Linked DNA regions of Homo sapiens: all the other regions are linked to region 1. Evidence: promoter capture Hi-C in 16 types of primary human blood cells and fetal thymus (Javierre and others, 2016). All regions are on one chromosome and are shown on one strand. The core of a region is centred on a gene start or on the middle of the fragment in contact, and the rest is flanking DNA. Distances in the headings are between cores, read along the strand shown.

What was found. The method cuts DNA at HindIII sites, captures the fragments that hold promoters and counts their contacts. A CHiCAGO score of 5 or more calls a contact.
Region 2: a fragment that was not itself captured here is called in contact with the fragment with the promoter of SELENON in region 1 in 13 of 17 cell types (naive CD4 T cells, naive CD8 T cells, activated CD4 T cells and 10 more); the score reaches 15.0 in naive CD4 T cells.
Region 3: a contact is called between a fragment that was not itself captured here and the fragment with the promoter of SELENON in region 1, in 8 of 17 cell types (non-activated CD4 T cells, naive CD4 T cells, activated CD4 T cells and 5 more). The highest score is 13.3, in non-activated CD4 T cells.
Region 4: a fragment that was not itself captured here is called in contact with the fragment with the promoter of SELENON in region 1 in 6 of 17 cell types (non-activated CD4 T cells, naive CD4 T cells, total CD4 T cells and 3 more); the score reaches 9.2 in non-activated CD4 T cells.
Region 5: a contact is called between a fragment that was not itself captured here and the fragment with the promoter of SELENON in region 1, in 4 of 17 cell types (naive CD4 T cells, non-activated CD4 T cells, activated CD4 T cells and 1 more). The highest score is 8.2, in naive CD4 T cells.

What each region holds. Positions count from the first base shown.
Region 1 is chr1:25,798,768-25,801,536 of GRCh38, reverse strand. SELENON (selenoprotein N) reads right to left here and starts at 1,344. Exons shown (of 12, transcript NM_206926.2): 1 at 1,124-1,344; 2 at 377-494. The coding sequence starts at 1,306. RefSeq lists a silencer at 1,480-1,619 and an enhancer at 1,429-2,150. The HindIII fragment of the contact is 6,547 bases long and covers 1-2,769 here.
Region 2 is chr1:25,580,775-25,583,543 of GRCh38, reverse strand. It overlaps a transcript of LDLRAP1 not described here. Among named protein-coding and RNA genes, the nearest start is that of MAN1C1, 35 kb to the left of the region's middle. RefSeq lists an enhancer at 1,146-1,994. The HindIII fragment of the contact is 5,056 bases long and covers 1-2,769 here.
Region 3 is chr1:25,629,128-25,631,896 of GRCh38, reverse strand. The region is part of intron 1 of MAN1C1 (mannosidase alpha class 1C member 1); the gene reads right to left. Among named protein-coding and RNA genes, the nearest start is that of MAN1C1, 14 kb to the right of the region's middle. The HindIII fragment of the contact is 6,918 bases long and covers 1-2,769 here.
Region 4 is chr1:25,648,734-25,651,502 of GRCh38, reverse strand. The region is part of intron 1 of MAN1C1 (mannosidase alpha class 1C member 1); the gene reads right to left. Among named protein-coding and RNA genes, the nearest start is that of MAN1C1, 33 kb to the right of the region's middle. The HindIII fragment of the contact is 1,907 bases long and covers 450-2,356 here.
Region 5 is chr1:25,668,024-25,670,792 of GRCh38, reverse strand. All of the region lies in intron 1 of MAN1C1 (mannosidase alpha class 1C member 1), which reads right to left. Among named protein-coding and RNA genes, the nearest start is that of MAN1C1, 53 kb to the right of the region's middle. The HindIII fragment of the contact is 2,626 bases long and covers 101-2,726 here.

The DNA.
Region 1 (2,769 bases), core at 95-2,594:
AGGTGTGCACCACCACACCCGGCTAATTTTTGTATTTTTGTAGGGATGGGGTTTTGCCATGTTGACCAGGCTGGTCTTGAACTCCTGGGCTCAAGCGATCCTTCCATCTCCCAAAGTGTTGGGATTACAGGCGTGAGCTACCTCGCAGACCAAAGAATGTTAGCTGGTATTATTGCTCACAAGTCTGAGAAAAACAGGCTCAGGGGTTGCTGGAGCAGCTCGCCCAAGCCACCAGCTACAAAGTGTCAGAGCTGGGAGGAGTCCAGGGCCTCTGAGATCCCACGAGCTTCCCTCCACTCCAGACGGCCGCTCCTGCTCAGTGAAGACACCGTTGGCCAAGGCGCCCTCCTCCCCAGCCGCCAGTCTCTCCTGGTACCTGTTAGCTTCTCAGCAATGGGTTTGAACTCCTCAGGGCTGATGTACATATCCCCGTCAGTGTCCAAGGAGGAAAAGAGAAAAAGGCCATCTGTCCCCAGGGTCTTCAGCGCCAGTTCCTGCTTGGGAGGAGAGACTGGGCTGGGCACCATTTGGCGGCCTGGTCTCCTGGTCCCCAACAGGCAGTTGCTTCCGCATGGAGCCCCTTCTCCCACCATCTTCCTGAGCTCTCCCAGTGCCTCCCGGTCCATCTGTGCAAATGTTGCCTCTGAACTGCCCCAGAGCCTCCAGTCCCTCCTGGTCCCTGCTCATCCACTGTCTGGTCCGACTGCCCCCTCCCAGTTTGTCCCCACTCCGCCTTCCGCCTGGCCCTGGCTGCTTGGCCCTGTTCCTCCTGCACCTTCTGTCCTCTCCTGTGTCCCCTCCTCACTGTCCCAGGGCTCCCCAGTAACCCTTTAAGACTCTGCGGGAACCAGCTTCACTGTGTCCAGGTCACCCCTCTGGATAGAGACCCCTCCAGTCTGTCCCAGCCCCACACTGGCCTCCGTTCGCCTTCCCCCCATCAGCCCGGCCCCAGGCACCCCCCACCCGCCTCCCGTGTCCCCTCCTTCCCGTGCTCCCTCCCGTCCAGTCCCCCTCCGCCCTCCGCCTCCCCCGACTCGTCCATGCCCATGTCCCCCCTGCTGCCGAGGCTGGGTCCTTCAGTCCCCGCTCCCGCGCTCCCGCCCCAGCCAGCTCGGGCCCGGACCTGCCGCGCGGCCGCCTGGGCCTCGGCGTGGCGGGCGCAGACCCGGACGGCGGCGGCAGCGGCGGCGGCCAGCAGGGCTCCGAGCAGCGCCAGGGAACGGGCGCGGCGGCGCGGTGGCGCGGGAGGCTGCGCGGCGGGGCCGGGGCTGGGCGGCCCGCGTTGGCCCGGCCGGGCCCGGCCCATGGCTGCGGCTGGCGGCGGCTGCCGGCGGCCCGGGAAGCGAAAGAGCGGGGCGGGGCCGGGGGCGGGGCGGCCGGGGCGGGGAGGGGCGGGGCGGCCGCAGGGGCTGGGCGGGGGGTCGCTGGTTCCCGGCTTCGCAGCCCGGCCAGAGCCCGGGGCGGGGTCAGCTACACCGGAACGCCAAGAGGGGCTGATCGCGTCTATGCGGTCGGGTCCGTAGTCCCGGCCACCCCAGCCTCCCCAGGCCGCTTCCTGCCTCTCCGCGCCCCTTCCCGTGCTTCCGTTCCCAAAGCTAAGCCAGGCCTCTGCGGCCCACTTGCCTGGCCCAGCCCAGAGAGCGATTCCAGACTGGGGACTGGGACAAAGAAGGGGCTGGGGAGAAGCCACACACCCTGTGCTTTCCTGGAGAAGGGGCGTCGGGGGCCTCTGAGGCCTCGTGTCCTCCTCTGCTGGCAGCCGGGCACGAGGCCAGAGACTGCTGAGGGGCATCCGTCCATCCTTATCCCACCAGTTTTCTAAAAGTTCCTCTGTCATCTAGAGCAAGACAAATTAAAAAGAAAGCCCAGCCCCTGTTCCCCTCATGTGCAGTTGGGGGGCCACCTCCGCAGATGCATGGGTTATGGGGATTGGCCTTGTTCCAGGCACAGCAGGTGCAGCTCTGAACCTGCACTTCCCTGGGCCCAAATTTCCTCATCTCCACCAAGGAGTTAAAAGAGCCCCCCAACCCCCACCCTCCGGGCTCTGGTCTGGTGAGGGGAAGGCGAGGCTCCAGCCCCTCAGCAGCTGGAGCTACCAGAGGCCCTGGCTTTTCTGGAGAACAGCATGCGGCATGCTTGGAGGAGGGCCTTGGAAATAGGGGTGGGTGGTGTTGAGGACATATTTTCATGCCTGTCAATCCCCAGGACCTTGGTTCCTTGGGGCTCTCTTCCATTCTTTCAAAGCCCCCAGTTACCATGGGGTGGCTCTAGATGTCTCTACCTGCATTTTCTCAGGCGAGGGTGGCAGCTGCAGAAGCCTCTAGACAAGAATTCTGAGCCCAGAGGTGAGCAGTGCCTGCCTTTGCAGAGCCCCACCAACCCCCCCAGCGCAGGGGCACCTGTCAGGCCTGAGGGATCCAAAGGATGCTGAGCTCTGCCCATGTGCTGGACTTCAGGTGGGGTGATTTACACATTCTCTCACTCTGTTCTCAAGCCACCTTGTGAGGTAGAGACTGCTTCCCTGGTTTTCAAATGAAGAAGCCTGACCTCTGGCACCCAGGTCTATGGGTCCAAATCTCCTGCCATCCTGCCTCCCAGGCTTCCCACGGGATGACCCGGTCGACTGAGTTGGGGGTGGGGTCCTGCCTCCACTGCCCATCCTGTTCTTCTTTGGTGGCCAGCCATGGCAGCACCAGGTGAGGCCTTCCCAGAGCCCACACAGGGCGTGGCACATCGTGGGCACTCCTCAGTGTCTGTCAGATGAATGAC
Region 2 (2,769 bases), core at 156-2,655, 220 kb after region 1:
ATATTATTTGCAAACAACAGAATACCAAAGATTTTTTTTAATCCCAAAAAAACCTGGGCTCAGTGGCTCACGACTATAATCCCAGCACTTTGGGAGGCTGAAGTGGGCAGATCACTTGAGGTCAGAAGTTCGAGACCAGCCTGGCCAACATGGCGAAACCCCATCTCTACTAAAAAAGTATAAAAAATTAGCCAGGCATGGTGGCAGGCTCCTGTAATCCCAGCTATTCGGGAGGCTGAGGCACGAGAATCACTTGAACCTGGGAGATGGAGGTTACAGTGAGCTGAGATGGCTCCACTGCACTCCAGCCTGGGCAACAGAGTGAGACTCCACCAAAAAAAAAAAAAAAAATCCCCAAAAAAGCCAAAGGAAAAAAAACACCTCACCTACAGAGGAGCAAAGATAATTATATCCAACTTCTCAGAAACCATGCAAACAAAAAGAGAGTGGAATGGAATTTTTGTTTTTTTTTTTGAGATAGTCTCACTCTGTCCCCCAAGCTGGAGTGCAGTGGCACGATCTCGGCTCACTGTAAGCTCTGCCTCCCGGGTTCAAGTGATTCTCCTGCCTCAGCATCCCAAGTAGCTGGGACTACAGGCCTGCGTCACCACGCCTAGCTAATTTTAGTATTTTTAGTAGAGACGGGGTTTCACCATGTTGCCCAGGCTGGTCTCGAACTTCTAACCTCAGGTAATCCGCCCACCTCGGCCTCCCAAAGTGCTGGGATTACAGATGTGAGCCACCGTACCCGGCTCATTGTATACTTTAAATGAGTTGTATGATATGTGAATTATATCACAATAAAGCTGTTATTTTTAAAAGGATGGGGATTCAAGTCTAAGGTGATGAAAAAGTTCTGGAGATAGACAGTGGGGAAGGCTGTACAACAATGTCAGTGTATGTAATGCCATTGAACTGTATACTTTAAAAAGTCAAAATGGTAATTTTTTTTTTTTTTTTGAGATGGGGTCTCGCTCTGTCGCCAGGCTGGAGTGCAGTGGCACGATCTCGGATCACTGCAACCTCCACCTCCCAGGTTCAAGCGATTCTCCTGCCTCAGCCTCCTGAGTAGCTGGGACTACAGGTGCATGCCACCATGCCCAGCTAAGTTTTGTATTTTTAGTAGAGACGGGGTTTCACCGTGTTCGCCAGGATGGTCTCGATCTCCATATCTAGTGATCTGCCCGCCTTGGCCTCCCAAAGTGCTGGGATTACAGGCGTGAGCCACCACGCCCAGACCATTCTACCATAATTTTTTGAAATAAATTTTAAAATAGAGCGGGGGAAGTATCTTAGAACCAGATAATGCATCCCCAAATATTGGAGTCAGTGGGCCAAGGACGTACCAACTCAGTCAATGTCTGATGAAAGAATGAAGAGCTTCCCTTATTTGAGAGACAAGAAAACTGAGGCCCAAGGGGAAGCCATGGCACTGCCCAGGGCTGCACAACAGGGCCAAGGCAGAGATCAGGACCAGAACCCAGATAAGTTCCACCCCTGGGAAGCCCAGGCCTGCGCTGGGTGGGGCTGGATTTCACCAAGCCCCTCCCCCAGCTGTGCACATCTGTCCATCTCAGCGGGATGAGGCCGTTGCCCAGGAAGCTGGCCAAGGACTCAAACATCCAGGACAGAACAACAGAGGCGCTTCCAAGGGGCAGTATTGGCAGCCTCATGCTTGAACCTGAGCCCTACGGGGCTGCCCCCTCCTGCCTGGCTCTGGGGGCTGTATTCCTAAGGCCACACTTTGTCTCTTTACCCCAAATCCTCCTACCTCAGCAGGAGTACCGGGATGCGGTCCAGGTCAGCTACTGCCTGGGGGAGGCACTCAGCAGGTCCCTGCCCCTCCCGGGGTCTCCATTTCCCCTTCAGCATAGTCAGGTTTCATCCAGCTCTGCCGGTCCCACTCCTCAAATCTGCGCAGCCTTTGCTGACACTGCTGTCTTGGAACACTTAGCCCTTCAGGTGCCCTAGTTGGAGGGAAGAGACGCCCTGCCGTTAGAAGCCTCAGCCCAAGGTGGGAGACAGGGCCCTGCACACAGGAGCTCCCGATGTGTCAGAGGAGCGAGAGTTCTGCCCTTCAGAGCTTCCAGCCTGAAGAGGGAAACAGACCACCCCGGATTCAGCAACTCCTGGTCTGATGGGGGAGACCTGAACCATCACAGGAGTCTCCTGTGTCAGTGCTTGGGCCCTGTTTGGTATCTCTCTTTTTCAGAAACCCTCTCCTCTCCCTGGCTCAAGAGGCCAGGGGCCCATACCTACCTCTCTGCTTCTCAGAATTCAGCTGCCCTCCTAGTTTACTCAGCAGTGCCCCCGCCCCAGGCTGCTGGCTACAGCAAGCATCACGACAGAATGCCCATGTGCTGAGGCCCGGCAGAGAACACATGTTCCTCACACCCCATTTGCTTTTGGTGAGAAGCTCTCCAGCCCAGCACGGCACCCTCTTGGTCCAGGACCGGCCCCCAAGCAGGCCAATGGCAGTAACATCTAGAATTAGGAAGTACTCAGTCTAGACAGGCCCTTCCTGCTTTTGCTAAGGCCAACAGACTAAGGCTGGCCTCAATTTAGGGAAACTCCTCCAGAGCCTGGTTCTGAGCCTTCCGGGATTCATGGTGTCCTGCCGGGTTCTCACAGTACCCCAAAGCCTGGGGTTACTACTGATGAAGAAACTCAGAGCCTGGTCCCCATCTATAAAATGGGGTTGATAAAAGCAACACCTCTTGAAAGATAATTGTGGGCCAGGTGCAGTGGCTCACACCTGTAATCCAGCAC
Region 3 (2,769 bases), core at 195-2,694, 170 kb after region 1:
AGGCAGCTGAGGCAGGAGAATCACTTGAACCTAAGCAGGCAGAGGTTGCAGTGAGCTGAGATCGCGCCACTACACTCCAGCTACTGAAACTATTCCAAAAGATTAAGAAAGAGGAAATCCTCCCTAAATCATTCTACGAAGCCAGTATCACTTTCATAACAAAACCAGGAAAGGACATAACAAAAATAAGGAAAACTACAGACCAATGTCCCTGATGAATACAGATGCAAAAATCCTCAGCAAAATACAAGCTAACAAAATCCAACAGCACATCAAAAATGTAATACACCATGATCAAGTGGGTTTCATAGCAGGGATGCAGGGATGGTCTAACATATACAAGTCAATAAATGTCATATATCACATAAACAGAATTAAAAACAAAAACCATACGATCATCTCAATAGTTGCAGAAAAAGCATTCAATAAGATCCAGCATCCTTTTATGATAAAAAAAACTCTCAACAAACCAGGCATAGAAAGGACTTATCTCAAAATAATAAAAGCCATATATGACAAACCCATAACCAACATCATACCGAATGGGGAAAAGTTTAAGGCATTCCCTTCTAAGAACTGGAACAAGACAAGGATGCCGACTTTCACTACTTCTATTAAACATAGCACTGGGCTGGGTGCGGTGGCTCATGCCTGTAATCCTAGCACTTTGGGAGGCTGAGGCGGGTGGACTGCCTAAGCTCAGGAGTTTGAGACCAGCCTGGGCAACATGGCAAAACCCCGTCTCTTCTAAAAATACAAAAAAAATTAACCAGGCGTGGTGGTACATGCCTGTAATCCCAGCTGCTCAGGAGGCTGAGGCACAAGAATCACTTAAATGCGGGAGGCGGGGGTTTCAGTGAGCCAAGATCGTGCCACTGGACTCCAGCCTGGGCGACAGAGCGAGACTCTGTCTCAAAAACAAAAACAAACAAACAAACAAACAAACAAAAACATAGTACTGGAAGTCCTAGCCAGAGCAATCTGGCAAGAGAAAGGAATAAAGGACATCCAAATTGGGAAAGAGGAAGTCAGACTATCACTGTTCACAGATGATATGACTGTATACCTAGAAAATCCTAAAGATTCCTCCAAAAGACTCTTAGATTTGATAAATAAATTCATTAAAGTCTCAGGTTACAAAATCAGTATATACAAATCAGTAGCACTGCTATACACCAACAACAACCAAGCTAAGAATCAAGTCAATAACTCAATCCCTTTTACAACAGCTGCAAAAATAAAATAAAATAAAAAACTTAGGAATATACTTAACTAAGGAGGTGAAATTTCTCTACAAGGAGAACAACAAGACACTGCTGGAAGAAATCACAGATAACACAAACAAATGGAAACACATCCCATGCTCATGGATTAGAAGAATCAGTATTGTGAAAATGACCATACTGCCCAAAGCAATCTACAGATTCAATGCAATCCCAAACAAAATAACAACATCATTGTTCACAGAATTAGAAAAAATAATCCTAAAATTAATATGAAATTTTTAAAAAGAGCCTGAATGGCCAAAGCAAACCTAAGCAAAAACAACAAATCTAGAGGTATCACATTACCAGACTTCAAATTGTACCACAAGGCTATAGTTACCAAAACAGAATGGTACTGATATAAAAGTAGGCACATAGACCCATGGAAAAGAATAGAGAACCCATAGATAAAGCCAAATATTTACAACCAACGGATCTTTGATGAAGCATATAAAAATATTTATTTTTTAAATAGGGTAAAGGGCACCCTATTTAATAAATGGTGCTGGGAAAACTGGCTAGCCACACATAGAGGAATGAAACTGGATCCCTATCTCTCATCTTATACAAAAAAAACTCAGGATGAGTCAACGACTTAAATCTAAGACCTGAAACCATAAGAATTCTAAAGATAACATCAGAAAAACTCTTCTGGACATTGGCCTAGGCAAAGACTTCATGACTAAGACCCCAAAAGCGAATGCAATAAAAACAAAAATAGATCAATAAATGGGATCTCGTTAAACTAAAAAGTTTCTGCACAGCAAAAGTAATAATCATCAGAGTAAAAAGACAATGCACATAATGGGAGAAAATATTTGCATACTATATATCCAACAAAGAACTAGTGTCTAAAAACCACAAGAAACTCAAATCAGAAAAAAAAAAAATCAATTAAAAAGTGGGCAAATGGCTGGGTGCAGTGGCTCACACCTGTAATCCCAGCACTTTGGGAGGCCGAGGTGGGCAGATCACCTGAGGTAGGGAGTTCGAGACCAGCCTGACCAATATGGTGAAACCCTGTCTCTACTAAAAATACAAGAAATCAGCCAGGCATGGTGACACATGCCTGTGATCCCGAGGTAGGAGAATCACTTGAACCTGGGAGGCGGAGGCTGCAGTGAGCCAAGATCGCACCACTGCACTCCAGCCTGAGTGACGGAGGGAGACCCTGTCTCAAAATAAATTAATTAATTAAGTAGGCAAATGACATGAATAGACATTTCTCAAAAAAGATACACAAATGGCCAAGAAACATATGAAAAATGCTCTACATCACTAATCATCAGGGAAATGCAAATTAAAACCACAATGCAAATTAAAACCACAACCTTACTCCTGCAAGAATGACATTACTAAAAAGTCAAAAAACAATAGACATTGGCATTGATGTGGTGAAAAGGGAACACTCATACACTGCTGGTAGGAATGTAAATTAGTACAGCCTCTATGGAAAACAGTATGGAGATTCCTTTAAGAACTATAAGTAGATCTACCATTCGAT
Region 4 (2,769 bases), core at 154-2,653, 150 kb after region 1:
TGGGCTGCCCCTTCCTTCCTGCCTGTCACACATGACCAGGGCAGAATGGAAACAGGAGTCCATCCCACTCATACCACTTGCAGGGCAATGAGCAGCCCAGGCGCCAGCAACAAGGCAGTGAGCTCAGGAGAGGCTTACAGGCCAGCTGAAGAGCCGTGCAAGGCCAGTGCAGGCCGGGACCAACCAGGGCCTTCCTGCCTGTCACTCAGGGAAGTCTGTCTTTCTGGCCAGCTGAGGCTGGTCACTGTCAGGAGTCTCCAACCAGGGCCAGTCTGCCCGCTTCTCCTCTGGGACAGAAGAAAGTGTGGCAGAGGATTCCCCACTGGTGCTCTAGAATTGCAGTAGCCGTCCCGGGTCCTCAGGATCTGCTGATTTCCAGAACACCTGTTCAGTTGGTGAGCGGCCCCTATTGTGAGTGTTCACCCAGTGGCAATCTCTCCTACCAAGCTTCCACTTACTCACCTTCTCCCCTTCTCCTAAGCCAACCCCCTCCAGGTCTCCTTGGAGGAGTTCTTACTTACTGAATGAATAAGTAAAAAAAAAAGTTTAAAAATAAGCCTGGATAAGAGCAATAAAGCCTCCCTTTAGCCTTTGCTATTAAAACTGATTTGAAATAGGAGAGCTAGATTTTCCAGGTGAGAATTACAGGGTTTGTGGATTAGGGAGACAACCAAGTCTCCTTTATTCTCCTTCTGTAAGGACTAAATTGATATTTACTTGCACAAGCCAAGAGTGAAAGTGGGCAGCCAGCTCTCCTAATAGCCATTTATACATCCAAGTTTGGTAGATTTATCGGTGTCTAAAACAGCAGAAAGAAAGAATGAGAACACACTATGTCAAAGCAAGTTCTCTATTATCCCAAAGAGAATTTACTATTGTTAAAAGCCCTGTCCCTTGCTGGAGAGATTTGGTTAGGCCATGGAGAGGCCACAGAGTCAAGCAGGCCATACCTGGACCTGCTCTCTCTGCGGGGGGTCGTGAGCTCCCCAAACAGGACCCCAAATAACCTCAGAACAACCTCAGAAGCAAGAGTTACGTGGAAGTAGACTGGAGCAGTGGCCACCTGCAGCAGCCTCAGAAGAGCAAACACTGGACACTGTATTTGGTAATAAAAGGCTCTGAACCCCTACGGAGTTGCTGGTACGATTTCCTCAGCTCTTGGTCAAATTTACACACATTCATTAAGGTCACAGCCCAGCCATGAGCCAGATGCCTCGATTAATCCCTTTAGAGCCAGAGAAATAAACACTGGGTAAGAAACAATGTTAAGGACCTGATTTATAAAAGCAAGAAGGACATTGTCTTTTGGCAGAAATGACCTGCTGCTTGACCCACAGTAAGTGGAGACCCACACGCCCCAGTCAGTGGTGCAGAGCTGTGGACATGGGAGTGTACAGAATTTATAGCCCCTGCTTTGAGTGTCAGAAACTGGGTCTGTGCACTGCCCCCTCCCCCAACTTTGGCAACTCAGCCAGGCCAGTGGCTAAAGGTCTTCTCGGGAGCCAGTACAACCACAGACAAGATGGAGCATCCTAGAGTTTTCAATACTAAAAGCAACAAGGCCAGGCCGGGCACGGTGGCTCACTCCTGTATCCCAGCACTTTTGGGAGGCTGAGACAGACGGATCACTTGAGGCCAGGAGTTCCAGACCAGCCTAGCCAACATGGTGAAACCCTGTCTCTATTAAAAATACAAAAATTAGCCAGGCATGGTGGCACACACCTGTAATCCCAGCTACTCGAGAAGCTGAGGCAGGGGAATTGCTTGAACCCGGGAGGGGCAGGTTGCAGGGAACTGAGATTGCGCCACTGTACTCCAGCCTGGGCGACAGAGTGAGACCCTATCTCCAAAAAAGAAAAAGGACTGCTACCCAGCCCCAAAACTGGGGAAAGGCAGCCCAGTGACCCAGTCAAAGGGTCCGCTAATATGGACAAAGGATCCCCTCAGAGACTGCTGGTAAAGTCCAGAAATATGAGGACCTCATTGCCCACAGAAAGGCTCAGTTAAGAAAGTCAAGAGGACAAGTGAAAACAAGAGTGAGGGTGAGGATCAACCTGAGCCTGAGCCGGGAAGACCAGAGGCATCCAACCAGCCTTAGGTCCCACACTGTGGACTCACACCACCACTAAGAAACATTTGGGATTTCCGACACTCAAAAAGTGACTTCGTATTGGCATGCTCTATATGCTGTCACATCATGCCCTTGTCACAAAGACAAAAGCTCTGGTGGGAAACACAAAGCCTCTTCAGAAGCCCTATTCAGCCTGCACTTGCCACAGAGAAATGGTGCCAGGAGTTCTTCTGAGTACTCATGCGTGGCAAGTGCTAGACAGTCCAGGAAGGTACCTTCTAAGCTTCTAGGTGCAAACTCAAATCAAGAAGACCTGGTGTCCTTCCTGGTACGTGCTTGACATAAGTGTTAAGAACAATGCTTGTGAAATTCCTAAGGAAATGTGAGAGACCCAGTCCTGCACACTGATTTGCCTTCCCCTGTTCAGTTGCTGACAGGAAGTAGAAGACAGGTAGTCAGGGAAGAATGACAGTTTGGGGATTAGTGTGATGACTATTAGCCAAGTTCTGCTCTGCTTTTCTTTTCAAAGAAAACTTCCCTTCTCTTTGCTCTTGGAATGCCACGTTAGAAGACATTTCCATGGCAACCACATACACATTTGGTGATGTCTCACTAAATTTGTGTGTGCACAAAGGCACATGAGGAGATTTTTTGAATGTGTAAGAGAAATAGATTTTCATAATTGAATTATGCCCTCA
Region 5 (2,769 bases), core at 164-2,663, 130 kb after region 1:
GGTAAGACCAGTCTCTCTCCTTTTGCCAACATTTGGGCTCTGTAGCTGGCAGGTGGCAGAGCCAGTGTTTGAAGCTGGGGTCTGGCTGATTCAGAAAGCTTTGTCTCTTCCATCTCACCAGGCTGCTCTACTGTCTAATGAATGAACCAACACGACATAGACCCAGCACCTCTGGACAGCATGTGGCACACACAGCATCAAACGAAGGCCGGCTGCTGCCCTGTGCCTGGCTCAAGTGGCCCATCCTTATGTCTGCTTCTCTTTGAAAATGAGAAATGTCCAAATTCCCACCCCCTGAAGGCTCAGTCTGCTAGAAGGAATGGATGACCTGCTTTAAAGCTGCCCCAGCAGAGCCTGGAGCCTTTGGAAACATGAAAGAGGCGGAACCAGTTCTTTTACCCAAACTTTAACAATTTTTTTTTAAAGAAACAGGTTTAAGTGAAAACAAAGAAAATACCAATGCAAGTGGCAGAGAGATCCTGCAAGGCACATGGAACGCAGGAATCTCCAAGTGCTGGTTTCCCAGGGAGGTGATACTATTTGAAATCTGGAAGTTCAGCCTTGATAATCTCCATCTAAAGACTGCTTAGTGGCGTCTCTGCATCCACAAGGGGATTTGGGTGATGGGTTTCAGAGCCTTTGGGGCTTACAGGGAGGCCCTGGGCCAAGCACAAGAACAAAGGCTCCAGGAGGGCAGGAGTCTTGTTTTCCAGGCAGTGTTGTCATTTCTGGAGAAACCAGCTGTGGGCATAGACTGCTTTGGAAATCCATTTAGAATCATGTGAAACCATCTACATTTTCTGGTAGTTCTACATTTTCTGGTAGTTCTTGGAACCGAAAGAGGATCAGCAACATTCTCCTGACAGATTCCTTTCCTGGACTCAAGAAGGGGGCCTGAGAACTACCAACATTCATGGGTAGTAAAGGGCCTTGTTTCTTGTCCTGTGAAAGGATTTCAGTTAAGAACTGGAGAATAAGCCAGTATTTATTTGTATCTGTGTATTTTTAGAGACAGAGTCTTGCTCTGTCATCCAGACAGGAGTGCAGTACAGTGGTATGATAGTAGCTCACTGCAGCCTCAAACTCCTAGGCTTAAGTGATCCTCTCACCTCAGCCTCCCTAGTAGCTGGGACTTCCAAGTAGCAGGTGTGTGCCACCACACTTGGCTGATTTTTACAATTTTTTTTTAAAAAAGATAGGGTCTCGATACGTTGCCCAAGCTGGTCTTGAACTCTTGGCTTCAAGTGATCCTCCTGCCTCGACCTCCCAAAGTGCTATGGTTAAAAGCACAAGCCAGTGTGCCCGATGGTGCCAGTATTTATTGAGCACCTCCATGTACCAGCCCTTTTGCCAGATGTGATCACATATTTTATCTCATTTAATCTTCCATTGCTACTCCCAGAAGCAAGTATTGAGCCCATTTTATAGATAAGAAAACTGAGGTTCAGAGCGGTTCAGTAACAATTCCAAGGACACACAGCTAACTGTGTGCCCAAGAACTGAATACACCTTCTCTAGGTCTGCTGCTCTGATTTCTAACAAGAGACCAGAATTTTCTCATTCCTATGCTGCCTCCAGATCTGGGACTTCCTGCTGGGGCCTGTAAACCAGCTACAGGAAACGGCAGCTCCCGTCAGTGGGCAAAACAGACCTTGCCATACGCAGGGCACAAATGAACCCACGGCCCATGACAGGTGTTTCAAAATCTTCACAAAATTCCTCTCTTCCCTGCACTTGCTTTTGAGGTACAACTATGGGTGATGGTGGCTCACCCGGACTCTTTCAAAATTTCAGAGACAGGCCCTTTCAGTTTCTCCCCATAAAAGAAAGGCCTAGCTGAGATTTCTGTCGCTGATGGCTGTATGCTTTGTATAAAGGAGGAAACCATCAGGTTTTCTCAATTCTGAGCACAGCAGCTGAAAAGTAGAAGGCTTGGGCAGGGTGCGGTGGCTCACGCCTGTAATCCCAGCACTTTGGGAGGCCGAGGCGGGTGGATCACGAGGTCAGGAGATGGAGACCATCCTGGCTAACATGGTGAAACCCCGTCTCTACTAAAAATACAAAAAAAAATTAGCTGGGCATCATGGCGGGCGTCTGTAGTCCCAGCTACTCGGGAGGCTGAGGCAGGAGAATGACGTGAACCCAGGAGGCGGAGGTTGCAGTGAGCCGAGATCGTGCCACTGCACTCCAGCCTGGGTGACTGAGCAAGACTCCGTCTCAAAAAAAAAAAAAAGAAAGAAAGAAAAGTAGAAGGCTTGGATTCAAACCCAGGTCTGTCCGATTCCAATCTCTGCATGTTAACCGTTCTTTTCTCTACCTCTCCCCACCTGACATCCATTCAGAAAATATTTACTGAGCATCTACTATGTACCCCATGTTCTAGTACATATGGGAGTAAACAAGATAGGAATGGCGGCTGCCTTCATGGCCTCTACATCCTAGTGTGGGGAGGCAGCCAGCAGCCAGCAGGAGAATTCTGAATGGTGACAAGCACCGTGAAGGAAAGTCAAGCAAGGTAAGGGGGTGGGGGATAACTGAGTGGGTGGGGTGGCCAAGGAAGGCCTCCCAGATGACAGCTGAGCTGAGAACTTAATAAATATCTGAAAAAAATGCACCTCGTTTCCCATTTATAGCCTGAGAAATGCATTCGGCTTTTCTTTGTTCCTCCAAGCCCCCATGAGAAGAGATTCCAAAGTACATATTTTCTTTTCTTGGCTAGAAAAGCTTGTAAAACCCACTGATAAGGTTACCAGTTCACCCCAGGAGAGA